Linked DNA regions of Homo sapiens: region 2 is linked to region 1. The links are contacts of gene promoters, found by promoter capture Hi-C in blood cells and fetal thymus (Javierre and others, 2016). All regions are on one chromosome and are shown on one strand. The core of a region is centred on a gene start or on the middle of the fragment in contact, and the rest is flanking DNA. Distances in the headings are between cores, read along the strand shown.

The links. The method cuts DNA at HindIII sites, captures the fragments that hold promoters and counts their contacts. A CHiCAGO score of 5 or more calls a contact.
Region 2: the fragment with the promoter of C1QTNF4 here is called in contact with a fragment that was not itself captured in region 1 in 1 of 17 cell types (M2 macrophages); the score reaches 5.6 in M2 macrophages.

What each region holds. Positions count from the first base shown.
Region 1 is chr11:47,311,196-47,317,607 of GRCh38, reverse strand. MADD (MAP kinase activating death domain) reads right to left here. Exons shown (of 37, transcript NM_001376571.1): 29 at 5,766-5,876; 30 at 2,281-2,388. Among named protein-coding and RNA genes, the nearest start is that of MYBPC3, 38 kb to the left of the region's middle. The HindIII fragment of the contact is 1,449 bases long and covers 2,990-4,438 here.
Region 2 is chr11:47,591,806-47,598,217 of GRCh38, reverse strand. C1QTNF4 (C1q and TNF related 4) reads left to right here and starts at 3,807. Exons shown (of 2, transcript NM_031909.3): 1 at 3,807-4,070. The HindIII fragment of the contact is 4,016 bases long and covers 2,494-6,412 here.

The DNA.
Region 1 (6,412 bases), core at 2,465-4,964:
ATTAAGTATTCTTCCCAAAAGAGTGAATCTGAAAGTGATCAAACCTCTAAACTGAACTACCAGTCTATGAGAAATATGTGACAGGAAACACGCTAATACAAAGGAGACACAATCAGCAAAAAATCTAGAATGTAGGAGACTCCACAGGGCAAACGATCCAATTTCTTCAACAAAATTAATGGCAAAGGGGGTATTACGTGTTATGAGACACTTAAGAATTATATCAACCAAAATTACAAATGCATTGTCCCTCTGACCCAGCAATCTCATTTCTGGGAATCCTTAGACACACTTGCACATGTATGAAATGAAGCAGGCACAGCATCATTCACAGTATGACTATCAGTAACAGCAAATTTGGAAGCAACCCAAGGATCCATATGTACTGACTGGTTAAATAAATTAAGGCACAGTCACACAGTGGAATACATGTAGCCATAAAACCAATGGGAAAGCTTTCTTGGTACTGATACAGAAGAGGACCAGGACAATGTTAAATGAAAAAAGCAAGGGATAAAGCAATGGATAAGATGTGCTATCTTTCTGAAAGAAAGGAGAAAAATAGGCCAGGCGGGGTGGCTCACGCCTATAATCCCAGCACTTTGTGAGGCTAAGGTGGGCAGATCACTTGAGGTCAGGAGTTTGAGACCAGCCTGGCCAATATGGTGAAGCCCCGTCTCTACTAAAAATAGAAAAATTATCTGGGCATGGTGGTGGGCGACTGTAATCCCAGCTACTCAGGCAGCTGAGGCAGGAGAATCACTTGAACCCAAGGGGCAGAGGTTGCAGTGAGCTGAGTTTGGACCACTGCACTCCAGCCTGAGCAAAAGAGCAACACTCTGTCTCAAAGAAAAAAAAGAAAGGAGGAAAATAAGAATTTGTGTTCATATTTTATTGTTTGCATAAAAGTCCACTGGAAGGCCGGGTGCACCGGCTCACGCCTATGATCTCAGCACTTTGGGAGGCCGAGGCGGGTGGATCAGTGAGGTCAGGAGTTGGAGACCAGCCTGACCAACATGGTGAAACCCCATCCCTACTAAAAATACAAAAAATTAGCTGGGTGCGGTGGTGGGCGCCTGTAATCCCAGCTACTTGGGAGCCTGAGGCAGGAGAATCGCTTGAACCCAGGAGGTGGAGGTTGCAGTGAGCTGAGATCAAGCCATTGCACTCCAGCCTGGGCGACAGAGTGAGACTCCGTCTCAAAAAAAAAAAAAAAAAAAAAGAAAAAGAAAAAAAAAATCCACTGGAATTTACAAAGGAAACCAATAAAAGTGGTTGTCTATAGGATGAAGGGGTGAGGGGAGTGGGAAATTCAGTGGAAGGGGACAAGAATGAGTGCAAGACCTCCCAATGTGTACTATTTTCTGTTATTCTGATTTATGAACAATGTGACTATATCATCTATATATAGATATCTTTATGTATATGTGTGTGCGCGTGTGTGTGCGCGCGCACGTGTATAAAAGAAATGGGGCCGGGCGCAGTGGCTCACACCTGTAATCCCAGCACTTTGGGAGGTCGAGGCAGGTGGATCACTTGAGGTCAGGAGTTCAAGACCAGCCTGGCCAACGAACATGGTGAAACCCCACCTCTACTAAAATACAAAAAATTGGCCGGGCATGGTGGCGCATGCCTGTAATCCTAGCTACTCAGGAAGCTGAGGCAGGAGAATTGCTTGAACCTGGGAGGTGGAGGCTGCAGTGAGCCAAGATCACACCACTGCACTCCAGCCTGGGTGACAGAGCGATACTCTGTCTCAAAAAAAAAAAAAAAAAGAAATGGGTATCATCTACTATATAAAATTTAATTATTTGAATAACAATCTGATAATTTGGCCGGGTGCGGTGGCTCATGCCTATAATACCAGCATTTTGGAAGGCCAAGGTGGGTGGATTACTTGAGGTCAGGAGTTTGAGACCAGCCTGGCCAACATGATCAAACCCCATCTCTATTAAAAATAGAAAAATCACCTGGGCTTGGTGGCTGGCGCCTGTAATCCCAGCTACTTGGGAGGCTGTGGCAGGAGAACTGCTTGAACCCGGGAGGCGGAGGTTGCAGTGAGCCGAGATCAAGCCACTACACTCCAGCCTGGGTGACAGAGCGAGACACTATCTCAAAAAAACACACACGCAAAAAACAAAAAAACCAATCTGATAATTTAATGATAAATAGATCATGAAGATGAATGAGATAAATGAGAAAAATATCCTGGCATCGGTCCTATGAGTTCCCTGTGACTCTCAATAGCCCTTTGGGCCCCCAGCATGAACCAGCACCTACCTCCATGAAAAAGATATCTCCGTTTGTATCTGTCCCTGCATGTACCACAAATGTCTGCTTCTTCATGTGCCGGCTGCCACTGGACCAGATAGAGAGATCGCGTCCATTCTGATGAAAGAGAGATTTTTTAGGGACAGTCATACATCCCTCTCAGAGGGCTCTGGGCCAAGAATTCCCCATCCAGCAATCAAATTCATATCGGCTTCCTCAGCACAGTCTCATCTGCTGGCCACTGGTCACCAGGGAAGTGGTTTCAGATGTTTTGGTCTCAGAGGCCCTATATCTCTTAAAATTTATTGAAGATTCCAAAGAGCTTTTGTTTATGTGAGTTATATTTATAGATATTTACATACTAGAAATTTAAACAGAAATTTCTCAAATGATTAATTATAAAAACAATTAATGATTAATATAACCCATTACATAGTAATATAAACATTTTTAATAAAATAACTATATTTTCAAAAAAAAGGCACTGTTTCACATTTTTGCAAATCTCTTTAATGTTTGGCTTAGAATCAAATAGTTGCATTCTCCTATCTGCCTCTGCATTGAGTCTGTTGCAGTATGTTGCTTTGGTTGAGGTATATGAAAAAAACTTGACCTCAGAGATACGTATTTGGAAAATGGAAGAGGATTTTCATAGCCTTTTCAGATAAATAGACGTATTCTTCTTTAACACTACACCAGAACTTGGGAAGCAGAAGCTTCTTTTTTTTTAGAGACAAGGTTTCGCTCTGTCATCCAGGCTGGAGTGCAGTGGCATGACCATAGCCCACCACAGCTCTGAACTCCTGGGCTTAAGTGACACTCCTGCCTCAGCCTCCCAAGTACCTGGAATTACAGGCATAAACCACAACACCCAGCAAAAGCAGCTTTTGAAAGTTAGTTGCAGTGTGGAATCTGAAAGCACATCAATGAACATTTTACATTGTTACATTAAAATCCATTTAGGCCAGACATGGTGGCTCATTCCTATAATCCCAACACTTTGGGAGGCCAAGTCAGGAGTACCGTTTGAGCCCAGGCAGGAGTTGGAGACCAGCCTGGGCAACAAAGTGAGACCCTATTCTCCATACACTTTTTTTTTTTTTTTGAGACAGGGTCTCATTCTGTCACCCAGGCTGGAGTGCAGTGGTGCTCACGGCAGCCTCAACCTCCTGAGCTCAAGTGATCCTCCCACCTCAGCCTCCCAAGTAGCTGGGACTACAGGTGCATGCCACCATGCCTAGCTAATTTTTTTATTTTTTGTAGAAATGGGGTCTCCCTTGGCTGGGCGCGGTGGCTCACACCTGTAATCCCAGCACTTTGGGAGGCCGAGGTGGGCGGATCAAAAGGTCAGGAGTTGGAGACCAGCCTGACCAGCGTGGTGAAACCCCATCTCTACTAAAAACATAAAAATTAGCCGGGCGTTGTGGCGGGCACCTGTAATCCCAGCTACTCATGAGGCTGAGGCAGGAGAATAGCTTGAACCTGGGAGGCGGAGGTTGTAGTGAGCCGAGATCGCGCCGCTGCACTCCAGCCCGGGTGACAGAGTGAGACTCCGTCTCAAAAACAAACAAACAAACAAAAAGAAATGGGGTCTATGTTCCCCAGACTGAAAAAAAATGTTATTTAAAAATTAAGATCCATATCTCTGCCTTGCATTTTGAGTAGATCTTTTATCCATACTTGAATTTACAACATCATACATTGGTATTTAGAAAATACTGTTGGCTGGGTGCCTGTAATCCTAGAACTTTGGAAGGCCAAGGTGGGCGGATTGACTAAACTCAGGAGTTCAAGACCACAGCCTGGGCAAGATGGTGAAACCCCGTCTCTATTAAAATACAAAAAAAAAAAAAAACTAGCCAGGTGTGGCAGCATACGCCTGTACTCCCAGCTGCTCAGGAGGCTGAGGCAGGAGAATTGCTTGAACCCAGGAGCCCAGGAGGCGGAGGTAGCAGTGAGCCAGCATCCTGCCACTGCACTCCAGCCTGGGCCACAGAGCGAGACTCCGTCTCCAAAAAAAAAAAAAGAAAGAAAATAGTGTTTCACTGAGTTACACAGCTCTTCCAAATGTTGACATATTTTGTAATATTAAATCAATGTTTAAAAAATCACATTCATTAATATCACCACCAATCTCATTAGAAAAGTCTTTAAATATTGGGAAGCTTCAAGTTCAAAACTCTGCCAAAATTCTTATTTTCACTTAAAAGCTGAATCTTATCATTGGCAACAAATACTGTCAGTTGTTTTCCCTGAAACAACAGGCTCACTTGATTAACTGAAGGAAAATGTCTGCCAGTTGGGTACTCTGAATAACCATGGTTTATTAATTGTCCTTTCCAGTAAAAATGATGTTCAATGAACAAAGCGATTAAGTTCACTTGCAACTCAAGGTGAACAAATCAAGGCTGCAAATTGCTTTTCTTCAAAACAACCATCATACTGGGTTTGCAACAGAGATGCTTTATGTGTACTTCCCATTTTGTCACAAAGAATATTAAAAACATTTATAATTAATCAATCTAATAAGAGTAACAGTCTTCACTGCTTCTTCAAGGACATTTACAAGCACAACTGGCATTTTTAAAAAACTAAGAGTGTAAGCCAGGTGCGGTGGTTCACACCCGTAATCCCAGAACTTTGGGAGCTAAGGCAGGCAGATCACTTGAGGTCAGGAGTTCAAGATCAGCCTGGCCAACATGGGGAATGCCCATCTCTACTGAAAATACAAAAATTAGCTGGGCGTGGTGGTGCATGCCTGTAACCTCAGGAGCTTCAGCTACTCGGGAGGCTGAAGCAGGAAAACTGCTTGAACTCGGGAGGCAGAGGTTGCAGTGAGCCAAAATTGCGCCATTGCACTCCAGTCTGGGCAACAAGAGAGTGAAACTCTGTCTCAAAAAATATATATGTATATACAAAAATTAGCTGGGTGGGCGGGCACATGCCTGTAATCCCAGCTACTTGGGAGGCTGAGGCATGAGAATCGCTTGAACCCAGGAGGTGGAGGTTGCAGTGAGCCAAGATTGCGCTACTGCACTCCAGCCTGGGCGACAGAGTGAGAGTCAGTCTCAAAAAACAAACAAACAAAACAAAAACGAAAAACTGAGAGTATATGAAGGCAAGGAATGCAATGGCTGCTGGCATAGTTTGGGGCCATTGTCTTCACTTGGGTTACAGTGCCAGCAGTTTTACCCATCACTGCGTTGGTACCATCAGTGCAAATGTAACCCCGTGAAAACAGCAAATAACATTTTAGAATCATTTGAAATCGTTTTCACCTTCTGAACCCTCAGCAGTTCACAGACCACACATCAAAACTGATGCACTACGATGGTTTTATACAGAGAATCCCATCACAGAACACAGGGACTAATGCCTCATTTACAGTCAAAGACAACTGCTCCATTTTCAAAAACGGGGTGAACTGGACTGCAAGTGACACAAACCAAGAAATGACCCATGGGGAAGCCTAAGGGGTGGCCAGACGTGCTTACCAGGTTCGCCAGCTGATCAAGCACCTCATTGATTTGCTGGCTGTACACAAGCCCAATGTGCGACTTTCCCATTAGGCGCCTCACCTTCTTGCGGATGTCATTCTTATTTACCTGAAAAGCCAACACATGACTCTTAACAAGGGATCTGCTCTCCTCCCGACTGAGGTAGAGAAAAGAGAATGTACAAGTGGGCTTCCCACCATCTGAGAGAAGTGGAATTCTGAAAGACCACATCACTGAACATGGGAGAAAACTTTCAACTGTGTATTCTGCCACCATGAGGGGAAGAAAAGTCCTGGCTCTGTCTCTAGTTAGCTTCTGCAGAAAAGTGGCTCTTAGAGCGGTTCTGGTTCCAGGGGACACTTTCTCCCTATCCCCACTCAATACCACAACATTCACCCCTACAAGGGCTCTAAAAACACCCAAGGCTCTTCATAGTGTAATTCAGAAACAATGACTTAGAGTGGCAACACCAGACTGGGTAGCCAAGACATCTCTGAAGGTTAGGGATCATCATCGTTTCTCAGCCAGAGTCAACTGGTACCCTCCAAATTCCACAGAGTACAGTGCAACTTACACCAGGAAATGAAGCACACCAAGAGGGGCTGGGGGCATTCTCTGCATTTGATCAACTGATCCCTTCACAC
Region 2 (6,412 bases), core at 2,558-5,057, 280 kb before region 1:
GCAGAATGGCGTGAACCCGGGAGGCGGAGCTTGCGGTGAGCCAAGATCGCGCCACCGCACTCCAGCCTGGGCGACTGAGCGAGACTCCGTCTCAAAAAAAAAAAAAAAAGCGCACAGATACCAGTGGGTTTTCACCATGGAGAACTTAACTCTGCTGGAGTCTCTCTGAGTCTGAAACATGACCTGGAATTGGGAATTGGAATGCTCCCATCGAGGGACCAGAAAGCTGGGGTATTTACCCCTAACTCTGGACCATTGGCTGATGGTTGCTCTGGGGGTATTAACTCTACAGCCCTTTGGGCCTGCCCCACACTAACTCCCATAGCTGAAAATGCCCTCAGGAGGGACACAGGAAGTAGGCGCCTGGTCAGGAACTGTCTGTGGGTGCCCTCCTGGTAGGCCTGGAGGTGTGGGTGGGCCACTGACAGCATCTACTACACTCAGTGAAAGGAACCTGCTATTAAAATTATTGTTGTTGGCTGGGCACCGTGGCTCACGCCTGTAATCCCAGCATTTTGGGAGGCCGAGGCAGGTGGATTACTTGAGGTCAGGAGTTCAAGACCAGCCTGGCCAACGCCATCTCTACTAAAAATACAAAAATTAGCCTGGTGTGGTGGCATACGCCTGTAATCCCAGCTACTCAGGAGGCTGAGGCAGGAGAATCACTTGAACCCAGGAGGCGGAGGTTGCAGTGAGCCGAGATCGCACCATTGCATTCCAGCTTGGGTGACAAGAGTGAAACTCCATTTCAAAAAATAAAAATAAATAAAAATTATTGTTGTTTATTAGCTGCCACGTGGTGGCAGGCTGACGGGGGAGGATCACTTAAGCCCAGGCTGCAATGAGCCAAGATCGTGCCACTGCACTCCAGCCTGGGTGACAGAGTAAGAACCTATCTCAGCCAGGCGCAGTGGCTCACTCCTGAAATCCCAGCATTTTGGGAGGCTGAGGCGGGCGGATCACCTGAGGTCAGGAGTTTGAGAACAGCCTGACCAACATGCAGAAACTCCATCTCTACTAAGAATACAAAATTAGCCAGGGTGGTGGTGCATACCTGTAATCCCAGCTACTCAGGAGGCTGAGGCAGGAGAATCACTTGAACCTGGGAGCGGGAGGTTGCGGTGAGCCAAGATTGCTCCATTGCACGCCAGCCTGGGCAACAAGAGCAAAACTCCATCTCAAGAAAAGAAAAAAGAACCCGTCTCAATTTATATATATTTTAATGTTAATTTTTTTAACTTTTTTTTTAAGTGATGGGGACAGCTGGGCGCGGTGGCTCACGCCTGTAATCCCAGCACTTTGAGAGGCCAAGGCGGGCGGATCACGAGGTCAGGAGTTCCAAGACCAGCCTGACCAACATGGTGAAACCCCGTCTCTACTAAAAATACAAAATATTAGTCGGACATGGTGGCGCGCTCCTGTAATCCCAGGTACTCAGGAGGCTGAGGCAGGAGAATCGCTTGAACCCGGGAGGCGGAGGTTGCAGTGAGCCAAGATCGCAGCATTGCACTCCAGCCTGGGCAACAGAGCGAGAGTCTGTCTCAGAAAAAAAAAAAAAAAAGAGAGAGAGAGATGGGGTCTCACTCTGTTGCCCAGAGTGGTCTCAAACTTCTGAGCTCAAGCGATCTTCCCACCTTGGCCTCCCAAAGTGCTAATATCATAGGCGTAAGCCACCATGCCCAGCCATACCCGTCTCAATTAAAAAATAAATAAAATAATTGTTGTTTAAGACCAGCCTGGGCAACAGAGTGAGACCTCGTCTCTACAAAAAATTTTAAAAAAAATTAGCCAGGCATGGTGACCTGCACCTGTAGTCCCAGCTACCTGGGAGGCTGAGGTGGGAGAATCACTTGAGCCCGCAAGGTCAAAGCTGCAGTGAGCCAAGATCATACCATTGCACTCCAGCCCAGGTGACACAGCAAGACCCTCTCTCAAAAATAAATAAAATTGTGGCTGCAAAACAAGAGAGGAGGGAGCAGGGACTATAACCAGCCTAGGGCTTTTCTCTGGATCCTGCTGCCACCTCTTCTTAACTCCCATTCTGGAGCCCACCCATCTGCCTTACACCCACCAGCTCATGGCATCATCTTTCTCTATATCCCTTTCCCAGTGGCTTCCTCCCTATCCCAGTCCCCTGATGCAAATCCTGATGTCATCTGCCCCAGCCACCCATCTCTACCTCAACCCTCACTTCTCTGGTGAGAACTCTTGTGGATCCAGGGAGTGTCAAATCCCAGCCTGAACCAAACCTCAACTGAGATTATATTATCCTATAATATACCTTCTCCCCTCCCCTCCCCTCCCACCATTGGAATCACCCTCAGGAGAGCAGCTCCACTCTTCTCATCCAGAAGGGGCCCATGGCCCTAAGAAGGGCCATAGATTGCCATAGGTTGGCTTTTGGCATCCCCCAGCTCTCCTTCGACATCCCTGTGTGGCTCATCCCACCCTTACCCTGCTTCTTGTCCTCCCCACAGTCCTGTGGCCCAAGCTTTTCAAGTTGGTGAAAGAGACAGTTGTGATCTGACAAGGGCTAGACAGGTGCTTCACCCTCTGTCACCAAATACCCTCATTATCCAGCCCAAAACACCTCCATTCATTCCTTTCTATTCTGGCACATATTCGTTAATTCATTCCATCATTCACCTAACACCCTTGAAGCAGAGCCAATCACCTCTACCAACATCTTCCTAGAGACAAATAGATTAACTGGGGTGGGGTAAACTTTGAGAGCTCCAAAAGGAAAGCTCCAGAGGACGGGGGTTCTGCAGGGGTCCAGGCCTCTCAGGGACCACAGAGCAGACCTGCAGCAGAGGCAGAATTAGAGCCCATGGCTCTGGAGTCAACCAGGGCCAGGCAGAGGGCACCAGCTCTTGGCTGCTGAAAGTAGAGCTCTTCAAAAGTCATCCACTCAGTCAGCATCTACTGAGTGCCAGGCAGTGTCGTCACCTCTACAGCCGTCAGGGGAGAGAACAGCAGCCTAGAGAAAGGGAGTCTGAGCCCCCATCCCACGGGCTCGAAGCCCAGAGTAGAGGCCAGCACTAGTGCCTCTGGTGAGTATTACCATGGGAAGACCGCTGTTCCCAGCCCGGGTGCCCTGCTGGACTCTTGCTAGCCTGGCCCCAGCGAGGCAGGGCATCAGTTTCCCTCTCCAGAGGCCTTTCTTCCCCACCTATTGCCCTCTCAATCCTGTCCCTTCTTGCAGGAGCAACCTTCCCAGCAGAAAATTCCATTCTGCCCCAAGGACTCTCCTCCTTACTGCCCCTCACCCCGGGGAACGCAGGCTGCCCCTCTGATGCCTGCAGACTCCCTTCTCCCTCTTTCCTAACCGACCGTGGGCATTTTCCAATTTGGAGGTGAGGAGGAAAAACTAGGTTATTTTCAGCTCTTCCTTTACTGGCAACATTGACCCATTTATCCTTCTCTTCCTTCAGACCTCTCCCCCAAGGCCACTTAGCTTGGACATCTGTCCCAGCCAAAATCTCACCTTCCACTGTCCTTGCAGCCCAAAGGCTAGTCCAGCCTCTGAGTCCAGCTCTAGCCCTCTCTCCCCACACTAGGAAGGAAGCTGGACTGTAGAGCGCTCTGGGCCACCCCGCGTTAGCTGCTGCCTCTGGCCTCAGTTTCCCCAACTGCTCAGATTAATGATGCCTGCTCTCTAGACCCAGAGGACGAAGCTCTAAGGAGGTCACAGATGAGGAAGGGTCCAGTGCTCGGCGCAGACTCCGTGCGGAGCCCCTAGGCCCCGCAGCTCGCCCCTCCCTCTCCCCTACTCCCCTCCTCTCCCCCTCCCGTCTCTCCCCCGCCTCTTCGCTCTCGCTCGGCTCCCTCTCTAGCTGACCTTCCCTTTCCCTCACGCCTCCCCACGCCCGGCCCCTGGCCCCAGCACCCTGTCCGCTGCCGCCTCAGAGCCGGGAAAAGCAGCCGGAGCCCCCGCCGCCCCTGCCGCAGCGCGGGCGGTCAGCGCGCAGCCCGGCACCCGCAGCCTGCAGCCTGCAGCCCGCAGCCCGCAGCCCGGAGCCAGATCGCGGGCTCAGACCGAACCCGACTCGACCGCCGCCCCCAGCCAGGTGAGGGCAGCTGAGGGGAGGCAGGGAGCCGAGGTTCCCCCTTTACTGGAAGCGAGGGCTGGGGAGGCGCGGGGAAATTGGGTCCTTTTTCCTTGAAAGGAGGACCTGGGAGCCTTTTCGTGAAACAGGCACAAGGGCTTTCATTCCAAAGGGATGGATGGATGGAGGGAAGGTCTCGGGGGAGAGGGATTGGTTTTTGTTTTTTAAAAATAAGGATTAATTGGCTTCTGTGAAAGTGGGACTTCTTGGAAGGATGAGGGGCTTTCAAGGTAGGTTGGGGAGGGGGCTCTGGCAGGGCTTGAGGGAAGGGTTAACTGGTGAGTGGCAGGGCAAGGGGGAACTCTGCGATCCCCTCAGCCTGACATCGCTGCACCTCCCGCCTTGGCTCCGGGGCTCTGGGTCTCTCCAGCTCTGTGTCCCAGTTTTTCTCTTTGAAGATGACTATTTTGAACCCCACCTGGACAGAGCCAGGAACAGCCATTTCCTTCCCTGGAGCTATGACACCCACCTGACACACCCTCCCACACCTCTGACCTGCTCAGGGAAGGGGGTTCAGGGAAGGACGAGGATCCAGGGATCTGGGAATTGGGCAGTGTGGGTGAAACGGAGGCTGGGTACTGGGTGCACAGGAAGACCCTTGGCACTGGTGGGGTGCACCAGCCTTGGTCAGGAGGTTGCTGGGCAGCTGCTTCTGGGGCAGGACCCACTAGGAAAGCAGCGGTATGGAAAAGCTGAGCTGTTTTCCGTGTTCCCAGAAGACAAAACACTAGAGAATGTGTTTGCTTGCTTTTGTTTGGTTTTGCTTTCTGTCTTCCTCACCCTGGATCCCAAGACTCATTCCTCTGATCTCCTCTCCTAGTTTTGCAAAAAGGTAAACTGAGGCACAGAACAAATTGGCTGGACATACCTGTGTCTAGGAGGGAAGAGTGACAGGAAGGCATACGGAATTTGAGTCAAAAAACCTCAGTGCTCCATGGGTGACCTTGGGCCAAAATGCTTTCCCTTGTTGGGCCTCAGCTTTCTCATCTATAAAATGGGAGACGGCCCACCTGTCTTGTAGGTTTGCCAAGACCATGTGTCTAAAAGAACTTTGTAAAAGGGAATGCACTGGACACTTGTGAGGTGCCATCTTCACCACTGTGGATGGCCCCTTCCCTCCTCCCTGTCCTAACCAAGGGACACCTAACTAATCCATAGGACACCTTTGTGAGAATTACAAAAAGCACCTCCTCTGGAAGGAGACAGCATTCAGTTGGCTAGCAACTTGGGGTCTTTAGTATGAGAATGAGAAGGTGGCATACTTTACGCCAGGTGCTGCTCTAACATGTGGAGTGTGAGCTAGATTCTAGCTGGGACGTTCTGCACATCTACACCTGACAACCCTTCTCAGCAGGTCCCTGCTGTCTCTAAGAGACACAGAGCTACACATACAGGGCATTTTCTAAAGCAGCCCACATCCCAGGCTGTCTCCAGCTCATTTCTTTCCTGTTTTGTTTCCACATCAGGGCTTTTGGGTATTCAAGCCCCAAAGCACGTGCCCTACTAGGAAGCAGGATGGAATCCCTACATCAGAGAGTGACTCCTTTGAGTTAAGCAGTGCCTTCACCAAGCTCTCAGGGGTAGGAGTGACTGAGTCCCTAAACCCTTACGTCAAGAACTGGACCAGATCACTTTTGTCAGGGCAACCGACAGAAGCATCTGCACACCTCAGCACTGCCGTTGACAAACCATGTTCACACCTATCTCAGCACACCCCCACAGCAAGCCTGTGTGTGAGGTCTCTTCCCCATTTACATGGAGGAAGCCATGCCCAGAGAAGTTAGGGAACCTGCCCAAGGTTTCACAGTGTGAGTGGTAGAGCCAGGACCTGAACCCAGATCTGGCTATCTGTCCTCTCCAATCCATCACTCCCAAGGAACAAAGCTGCTGACTTCACAGCCTTGCCAAAGCCCTGCTGGAATTGTTGCTGTCCCTGTCCATCCCCAGTAGCCCCTGGCTCGCCACTCCTTCTTCTGAGTAACCAGCCTCCAAGCAAAGAGAAAGGAGTCACCTTCTCTTTTACTCTGATTTCAAGGGGGAGGAAGCTACCTCAAAGCCCAACTGTTCTCGCCTCCTCTGTGCAGGAAGGGCCCCTGGTGAGGCCAGGAAAGGGGTCAGGGAGCAGCGATTTCCTTTCCTGCTCAGATGGGGCTTAAACAGTAACGGTCATGCAGAGCGTTGACACAGAGAGCCAGTGCCTGCGTGAGTGGCAGACCAAGGACCATAAAATAACCACAGGAAAATGCAGCCAACTGGAGCTGAGGGGAACTCAGAGACTCCCCTGAATCCCCCGGGTTACCAGG